Regions from separate parts of the Homo sapiens genome. Here region 2 is linked to region 1. The links are contacts of gene promoters, found by promoter capture Hi-C in human tissues and cell types (Jung and others, 2019). All regions are on one chromosome and are shown on one strand. The core of a region is centred on a gene start or on the middle of the fragment in contact, and the rest is flanking DNA. Distances in the headings are between cores, read along the strand shown.

Evidence for each region. The method cuts DNA at HindIII sites, captures the fragments that hold promoters and counts their contacts. A contact is called where the count stands out against the background at its distance.
Region 2: a contact is called between a fragment that was not itself captured here and the fragment with the promoter of GUCA1B in region 1, in 1 of the 25 tissues and cell types used here (mesenchymal stem cells).

The regions. Positions count from the first base shown.
Region 1 is chr6:42,192,900-42,196,679 of GRCh38, reverse strand. GUCA1B (guanylate cyclase activator 1B) reads left to right here and starts at 1,724. Exons shown (of 4, transcript NM_002098.6): 1 at 1,724-2,066. The coding sequence starts at 1,860. The HindIII fragment of the contact is 9,949 bases long and covers 1-3,780 here.
Region 2 is chr6:42,454,609-42,458,907 of GRCh38, reverse strand. It overlaps LOC124900214 (arf-GAP with GTPase, ANK repeat and PH domain-containing protein 2-like), which reads right to left. Exons shown (of 4, transcript XM_047419627.1): 2 at 3,993-4,128; 3 at 2,754-2,963; 4 at 1,724-2,172. It overlaps LOC107986596 (a long non-coding RNA gene), which reads right to left. Exons shown (of 5, transcript NR_171668.1): 3 at 3,993-4,128; 4 at 2,754-2,963; 5 at 1,724-2,172. Among named protein-coding and RNA genes, the nearest start is that of TRERF1, 4.8 kb to the right of the region's middle. The HindIII fragment of the contact is 4,823 bases long and covers 196-4,299 here.

The DNA of each region.
Region 1 (3,780 bases), core at 475-2,974:
TTCAGAGCTCAGTGACGTCTGGAGGCAGAGAACAGTGAGAGAGGAGGTCAGGCCTGGAGATGTGCAAAACAATTCAGGCTGAACACCCAGTGAGGGATGGGTAGGTTAAGGATAGATTCACTGGAACTGCTGCCTCTGAAGTCTTCTAGAAAAATGAGTGTCACTGGGCGTGGTGGCTCATGCCTATAATCCCAGCACTTTGGGAGACCAAGGCGGGTGGATCACTTGAGGTCAGGAGTTTGAAACCAGCCTGGCCAACATGATGAAACCCCATCTCTACTAAAAATACAAAAATTAGCTGGCTGCTGGGTGCATCAAACCAACATGGCACATGTATACCTATGTAACAAACCTGTATGTTGTGCACATGTACCCTAGAACTTAAAGTATAATAAAAAAAAAAAAAAGAAGAAAAAATAGCTGGGTGTTGTGGTGTGCACCTGTAATCCCAGCTGCTCGGGAGGCTGAGGCATGAGAATCACTTGAACCCGGAGGCGGAAGTTGCAGTGAGCCGAGATCACACCACTGCACTCCAGCCTGGGCGACAGAGCGAGACCCTGTCTCAAAAAATAGAAATTTAAAAAAAAAAAGCAAAGAAAAAGAAAAATGTGTGTCCCTGGTCTTTTGATTTCTTGGAGGTGTCATTTTTATGTTACATTAAAATAAGCATGAATATGTAATTGTTCAAAAGCAAATTTTACATGACCTATAATGTAAAAGTAAGAGCCTTCAAAGATATTTTAGGCCATGCTCCCAGATCCTTCTCACATGTTAGTATTTTGGAGGAAATGTGAAAAAGGCACTACCCCTAGGTCTTGTGTGAAGGGTTGGAGGGAGGCATTTGTAGTTTAAATCAGAAAGTGAAAAGCTCCCAAGATGAAAGGTGTAATCTGGAAAGGAGCTTCAGGGACCGAGTTAGCCTGGGAAGAGAGTTGCTCACCTAGAGCCCTTCCCATCATAGATTCTGCCTCTTTTCACTAGACCGTCTGAGGGGCGAGTCCCAGATCACCAGCAGATTCTGTTTTATGGCCTAGGACTTGATCTCACTTCCTCTCTGGATTTGAGTCTCCTGTCTCCAAGATGGGCCTCCCTGAAGCAATGTGAGGCCCAGCTAAAGAGATAGGGAGTGAGTGAGATGGGAGGATCCCAGCCTAGCACCCCGACTCTTTCTTCACTCTGCATCTCTCTGCTTACCTCTCAGTTTCTTCCCCTTCTACCTCTTCAGAGTCTACCAGGGCCAGCTTGGTTGCTTTGTTGACAAGGCTAAGGGAAGGAGTGAGGCTGGAGGAGTTTAGGCTGGAGGTCAGAACTTCCTGGGGAATCTCTTTTTTTTTTTTTTTTTTTTTTTTTGAGACAGAGTCTCACTCTGTCCCCCAGGCTGGAGTGCAGTGGTGTGATCGCAGCTCACTGCAACCTCTATCTCCCAGGTTCAAGTGATTCTCCTGCCTCAGCCTCCTGAATAGCTGGGATTACAGGTACCCACCACCATGCCCAGCTAATTTTTTGTATTTTTAGTAGAGACAGGATTTCACCATGTTGGCCAGGCTGGTCTCGAACTCCTGACCTTGTGATCCACCCACCTCGGCCTCCCAAAGTGCTGGGATTACAGGCATGAGCCACCGCACCCGGCCACCTGGGGAATCTTCTAATAGTCTTAGGGCAGCTTAGCTGGCCTGGACCCACCTCCCTTGCCACCTGCCCCCTGCACCGACTGATCATGTTCAGTCACCCAGGAGATGATGGAGAGGCTGATCAGGCCTCCTGGAAAGGGAGGAAGAGGGCCCTAGTTGGAGAGATCCATCAGCAGAAGCCAGGGAGGAGATACAGACCCTTGCTCCCTGATGCTCCTCAGGGCTAGCATGGGGCAGGAGTTTAGCTGGGAGGAGGCGGAGGCAGCTGGCGAGATAGATGTGGCGGAGCTCCAGGAGTGGTACAAGAAGTTTGTGATGGAGTGCCCCAGCGGCACACTCTTTATGCATGAGTTTAAGCGCTTCTTCAAGGTCACAGACGATGAGGAGGCCTCCCAGTATGTAGAGGGCATGTTCCGAGCCTTCGACAAGAATGGGGTAAGGCACCCTGAAGGGAAGGACCAGTGGCCAGTCCACCTGGCGCCTTCCTCCACAAGTGTCCTCAGGGAGAGCTCCCAGTTCCCCACTCCTCGGCTCTTTCTCTGCTCTTCTTTCCACTCCGTCTCTCTTTACCTTTTCTGTCTCACTCACCAAACCCTTCTGTCTCTTCTCTTCCTTTTGTCCCTTTCCATCTTCTCTGTCTCTCCTTCCCTCCCTCCATCTCTTAGCTGTCGGCTGATGCTCCCTGTGTCCTCTTCTTGAGAGCTGAAGGGCGACTGGCAGACAGTCCAGGTCCTCTCTTTGTGTATTTTTGACCAAGACTCTGCAGCCCAATGACCGGGTTTTCGCATCTGCCAGAGCCCCTGTCACTCTAAACACTAGGAGCAAAAGAGATGTTCTAAATGAGACAAGGTATCTTAGCATGGGCTATGAGCTCCCTCTTGTTGGGGTTCTTCTGAGACTGGTCAGATCCTCCCTGTCAAGAATGCTGGAAGAGGCTCCTGCATGTATTGGGAGACTGGGCGAATGACTGCAAAAGCCCCTTTCAGCTCTTCAAGTCCTGGAAGGTTTCATTAAATCATTCAGACTAGAGTTTCTCTAAGCCCACAATGTCACTAGCAGCTAAGAAGATAACACATCTTGTAAATGCACCAGGGGATTGAATTTTAAATTTCAATTCAGTTAAAAACCCCTTGATTATTTAAGGTTATCCAGTTCAGTGCCCTGGCAATCCTCAAATACCTCAAATACCTCAAATGCCCTGGTATTTGCCTCAAATACCAATTTAATCTGAAGAAAGTGTCAGTTCTCCATTCCTCAGTGCGTGGAGAACTTAGCTTTCTAAGCTGAATCACTGGGAATGCCACTTCAGGTCTCATCCTGTCGCTGGTACCAGTCAGTGCACGTCCCCACAGTGCCTGTCCCGGGACAGGAGGGTGAGGTCAGCACCTTCAATTCAACAGAACCTCCTTAGAGATGAACCCCATCGACCACCCCACAGGGCACAGAGCCAGTTTCGGACTTCTCAGCGCTCCGCCTCTCTTAGGTCTCCTCTGAATCAGCAGCAACCCTGGGTGGGAGGGGCAGACTTTTGTTATTCCAAATTAAATGATGAGAAAGCTGGGCAAAAGGGAATGAATCGATTTGCCCAAGGTCTTAAGTGCTCCTGCCTAGAAGGCAGGTTTTTTAAAGAGAGAAGATGACTTTTTAAAATAATTGATGTTTTTTTAAAATGTAAGAAAAGTAAACAAATATATCAGGTCATAAATAATAAGACTCATTTAAGTCCATCAATCTTCCCCAGATTCATCTAAAAATCAATACGATCATGATTCAAGATCCAAAGGGCTGATTAAGCCCCTAGGCATATAGTTGTACTCCTTATACCTCATCTCTTCTTATAAATCGGCATATGATGTTCATCAATGTTTTTTCCTTTTTGAATAACTTTTTAATTTTACTATGATTCTAAATTTACAGAAGAGTTATAAGAATGATACAAGTAACTCCCATATGCAATTTATCCAAATTTCCCCAGTTATTCACATTTTATATCATTTACTTTATCATTCTGCCTCTCTCTGTATACATACATATATATAATGTATCCTATAAGTATATATACATATACATGATACATAATTTATACATATACTTTTTTTAAGAGAAAGCTATAGATATCATGCCCGTTTATCCCTAAGTATTTCAGTGT
Region 2 (4,299 bases), core at 1,358-3,857, 260 kb before region 1:
TTCAACAACTGCATGAATTATATCCATCACTCATCCCTAAAGCACACACTTGATTTGTGCTATCCCCTTCATTTGGTCCTGTTGCCTCTCTGAGACTTCATTCTGCAGCAGTGGGTAGAAAGGCAACTGAGGTGGTATTTCCCCCTCCATGCTCTTGTCTATTTTTCCATGCCTGCAGTTTGTCCAGTTTTTAAGAAGCTCTCCCAAAGCTCCACCTTTAATATAAAGGGAAGTATTTTATAGAAGGGTTCACTTATTTGAAGAGTTACCAAATATATTGTCTTATCTTTTCCCCAAAATGCACACTTTCTCTTAAAGAGGACAAACTTTCATTTCAAAACGGGGTCATATGTAAAAATCATTCCAGCTGCTTAAATCCAGAGCATGGAAAAATTACTCCAAGAACAATATACAAATGCTCACTGGGCCTAAAACGTTTCGTTTGATTATGGACTGGATACATTTCCATTCAGCTCTGATTTGTTCCTGAGATAGGCAAATAACCAGCGTAGCCTCAGAAATGATCCTTCTCTTGGGAAAGCCAGCAGCATTGTGGACAGTCTAGACAACTAGAAGGAGCCAGAGAGTTCTAGCATCTAAACTGAAAACGAGGGAAGTCAGTCACAGTTCTGGACTGGGTGGCAGAACCGTGAGCAGAGTTGAGAATTTCACCCAGTGCATCTGATTCCAAGTCTATAAATTCTTGAGGTGTCTCTGCAGTGATGCACATTTTCAGGGAAAACCAGCCCCTAACTTTAATTTGCCTGTTCCTGTCACCCAGTCCTTCTGCCATTTACCTTCATATATGCTGTCTTCTGTGGAATTAAATGCGTCCTTAACAATTACCTGTCTACCTTGCTCTTTTCAGGGCTCAGGTCTGACTTACATGCTACCCTGAATGGCTCATGGTGACAAAAAATGCCATTTCTGGATGCCTATTATGTACTAGCATTGTATTTTGTTAACTTAAAAAATGTTAGGCTGGGTGCAGTGGCTCATGCCTATAATCCCAGCACTTTGAGAGGCTGAGGTGGGAGGATCCCGTGAGCCCAGGACTTTAAGACCAGTGTGGGCAAAATCGCAAAACCCGTCTCTACAAAAGAGAAAAATTTAGCCAGGCATGGTGGTGCACACCTGCAGTCCCAGCTACTTGGGAGGCAGACGTGCAAGGATCACCTGAGCCTGGGAGGTTGAGGCCGCAGTGAACTGTGATTATGCCACTGCACTGCAGCCTGGGTGAAAGAGCAAGACTGTTTCAAAAATACATGTATGTAATTATTTATAACAGTAATAATTCAACAAGCCTCATAATTTTTAATTTTAATGCTTAAAAGGGTTATGTTTATTTTACTTTTAAATTTATTTCATTTTATTATTTTTCAACCTGATCATCTCAGACAATAAATTTATTTCAAATGTATTTGAAACATGTCAAATATTCAACAGCAGTAGGGAAACTAGTATGGAAAGTTCCATATGGGAAATGGAATAATGAATAACTTCAACAATTTTCCGTATTTCACTAATCTTGTTTCATTTATTTAGTGTTTTGATGGGGAGGGGATGGAGTATTGGAAAGCAAATCCTAGATATATTTTCACTCAAAATGCCTCATTATGTATCTGTAATAGATAAGAACTTAAAAAAAACTGCAATGCCATTATCATATCTGAAAAAGTGATTAATTTCTTAATATCAGATAGTCTACATTTTGTCTCAAAAATGTCTTTTAAAAAAATCTTATTTATTCAAATCAAATCCTCACAAGATCTAAATATTGTATTTAGTTGTTACTAACATTTTAGAATGTTATTTATTTTAGAAGTCATTTATTTACATGCATTTAACCTTTATATTAAACCAACGCAGAAGGTATGGTCCCAGCTCAGAGAGGTTAAGAAACCTTACCAAGGTCTCATTGCTGGCAGGCACCGGACACATAATTTGAATTAAATCTTCTTAACTCCAAAGCCTCCATGCCACTCCTTCTGATGCAGGCTAACAGAATTTTTCCTGTGTTGCAGAGAGGCAAAAGGGCCACTATTTAAGAGAGAGGGTCCGGGTGTGGTGGCTCATGCATGTAATCCCAGCACTTTTTGAGGCCGAGGCAGGCAAATCGCTTGAGTCCAGGAGTTCGAAACCAGTCTGGGCAAGAATGGTGGAACCTCATCTCTACAAAAAAATACAAAAATTAGCTGGGGGTAGTGGCGTACACCTGTAGTCCCAGCTACTGGGGATGCTGAGGTGGGAGGATCACTTGCGCCTGGGAGGTTGAGGCCACAGTGAGCTGACAGCTAACCCTGATTGCCTCCATAGACTGTGCCACTGCATGCCATCTGGGCTGACAAGAGTGAGACCCTGTTTAAAAAAAAAAAAAAAAAGGAAAGAAAAAGTAAAAAGAGATAGGGTTTGGATTCAGGTTGGCCTGGATGCAAATTGGTGCAAATTACATAATCTCTCTGAACTTTCATTTCTGTCTGCATCTGTAAATAAGGATAATGATGAAGATTTGGGGCAGATTAAATAAGAATATGCATGCCTAGTATTTAGCACAGTGCGTGGCACACGGAAAGCCCTCGATAAATGTTAGCAATTAATGTAGAAGAGGAAAAAGAACCACAAAGTATTTAAACATTTGCATTTGTTAGTAGCTCGAGGAAATGGTGGCTCATCATTGTTAATAGAGCCTGCTTAGGATTGAGGCTGAAGGGGGGAAGGGTGGGAGTGGGGATAGGATAGGGGAGTGGCTCTACCTGGATTGGAGAAAGGAGTTCTGGACATAAAGATTTAAATTGGTGTCCGAGGAGTTCTCACAAGGCCTCAGCTGGAAAACAGTTAAATGCATCTTCTGACCACTAACCCAGGTTGCCTCCAGAGAAGGAAAACCAAGTGGGTGGCAGACAGGGTGGGAGGGAGACTTCTTGCTGTTTATTTGAATTTGGAACCATGTGAATGCATTCAACCTATTCCAAAAGAATAAATTACATTAAAAAATGGTCTTTTGCTATGGGGATAAGTGCTGAGAATGGTAAGACTAGGATCTAATGATAATAATAATAATAATTCCATTATACTTTGTGCAGCCCTAGGAGGGCTTCAGTCATGCAGGACAGGTTTTGAACTAAGATTGGGACTTTTTCAGCCTGACTCTGATTTCAAAGATCCAAGCTAATATTTTAATTTCAGTCACCCTCCTTCTGACCCTGATTGTAGAAAGATTCCAGACCCAGCGCTCATGGACTTGGTTTATTCAACCTGTGGATTGCCTTCAAGAGTATGCATTGTTGGGAGTCAAGTCTATTGGTAAAATCAGGGATGCATTGTCTGTGCATCTGCCGGTGTTTCCCAGTCCTTTTGGTGCTCTCTTTCTCTCTCTCTCTCTCCCTCTCTCTATATATATAATTTTATTTTTTGAGACAGAGTCTTGCGCTGTCACCCAGGCTGGAGTGCAGTGGGGCAATCTGCTCACTGCAGCCTCAACCCCGTGGGCTCAAGCCATCCTCCTGCCTTAGCCTCCTCAGTAGCTGGGACTACAGGCATGCACCACTATGCCTGGCTAATTTTTTATTTTTTAATAATAAACGTGGAGAGGGTCTCTCTACATTGTCCAGGCTGGTCTCAAACTCCTCAGCTCAAGCGATCCGCCTACCTCATCCGCCCAAAGCGCTGGGATGACAGGTGTGAGCCACCCCGCCTGGCCCCATAGATATTTTTCTGATGCTTCAATCAGCTAAGACTCTGAGGATCTGATTTTCTAGAGTCCTTTGGAAGGTGGGGGGGGGGCGGGGCGGGGGAGGATACACAACCCTATTCACAAATATTAGTAACTTGCTTTAAACTCTAAGGCCTTACATAAAATAACTCATTTAAACCTCACAATAACACTATGATATGAATACTATCATTCCCATTTTACAGGCAAAGAAACTGAACCAAGCGGTTAAGTAATTTGCCTAAGGTCAGAGCCTGCAGAGCTAACCATCTGGCATTACCATCACTCTGTTGGCAATGAACAGAGCGGGCCAAGCGTGTAGGGTGTAGGGGGTCCTTTGAAGATGACAAAAGCGTCCTTGGCTGTGTAGCCGCAAATCCCAAATCCTTCCTTCTCTGCAGCTTCTGGTTTAGGAGCTGGAAAGACAGGCTGTGAATTTCCACATTGACCTGGGGCAATTAACTTAACTCTCCGAATAGGTTCCTTATCTGCCCCGGGGAGGAGTTTTAGATTAAGAGGGTGTGTGTGTGTGCTGGGAGGGAGGTGGAGGGGCTGAGTTTTCTGGGTGGTGCGGTTTTCCCAAGTCC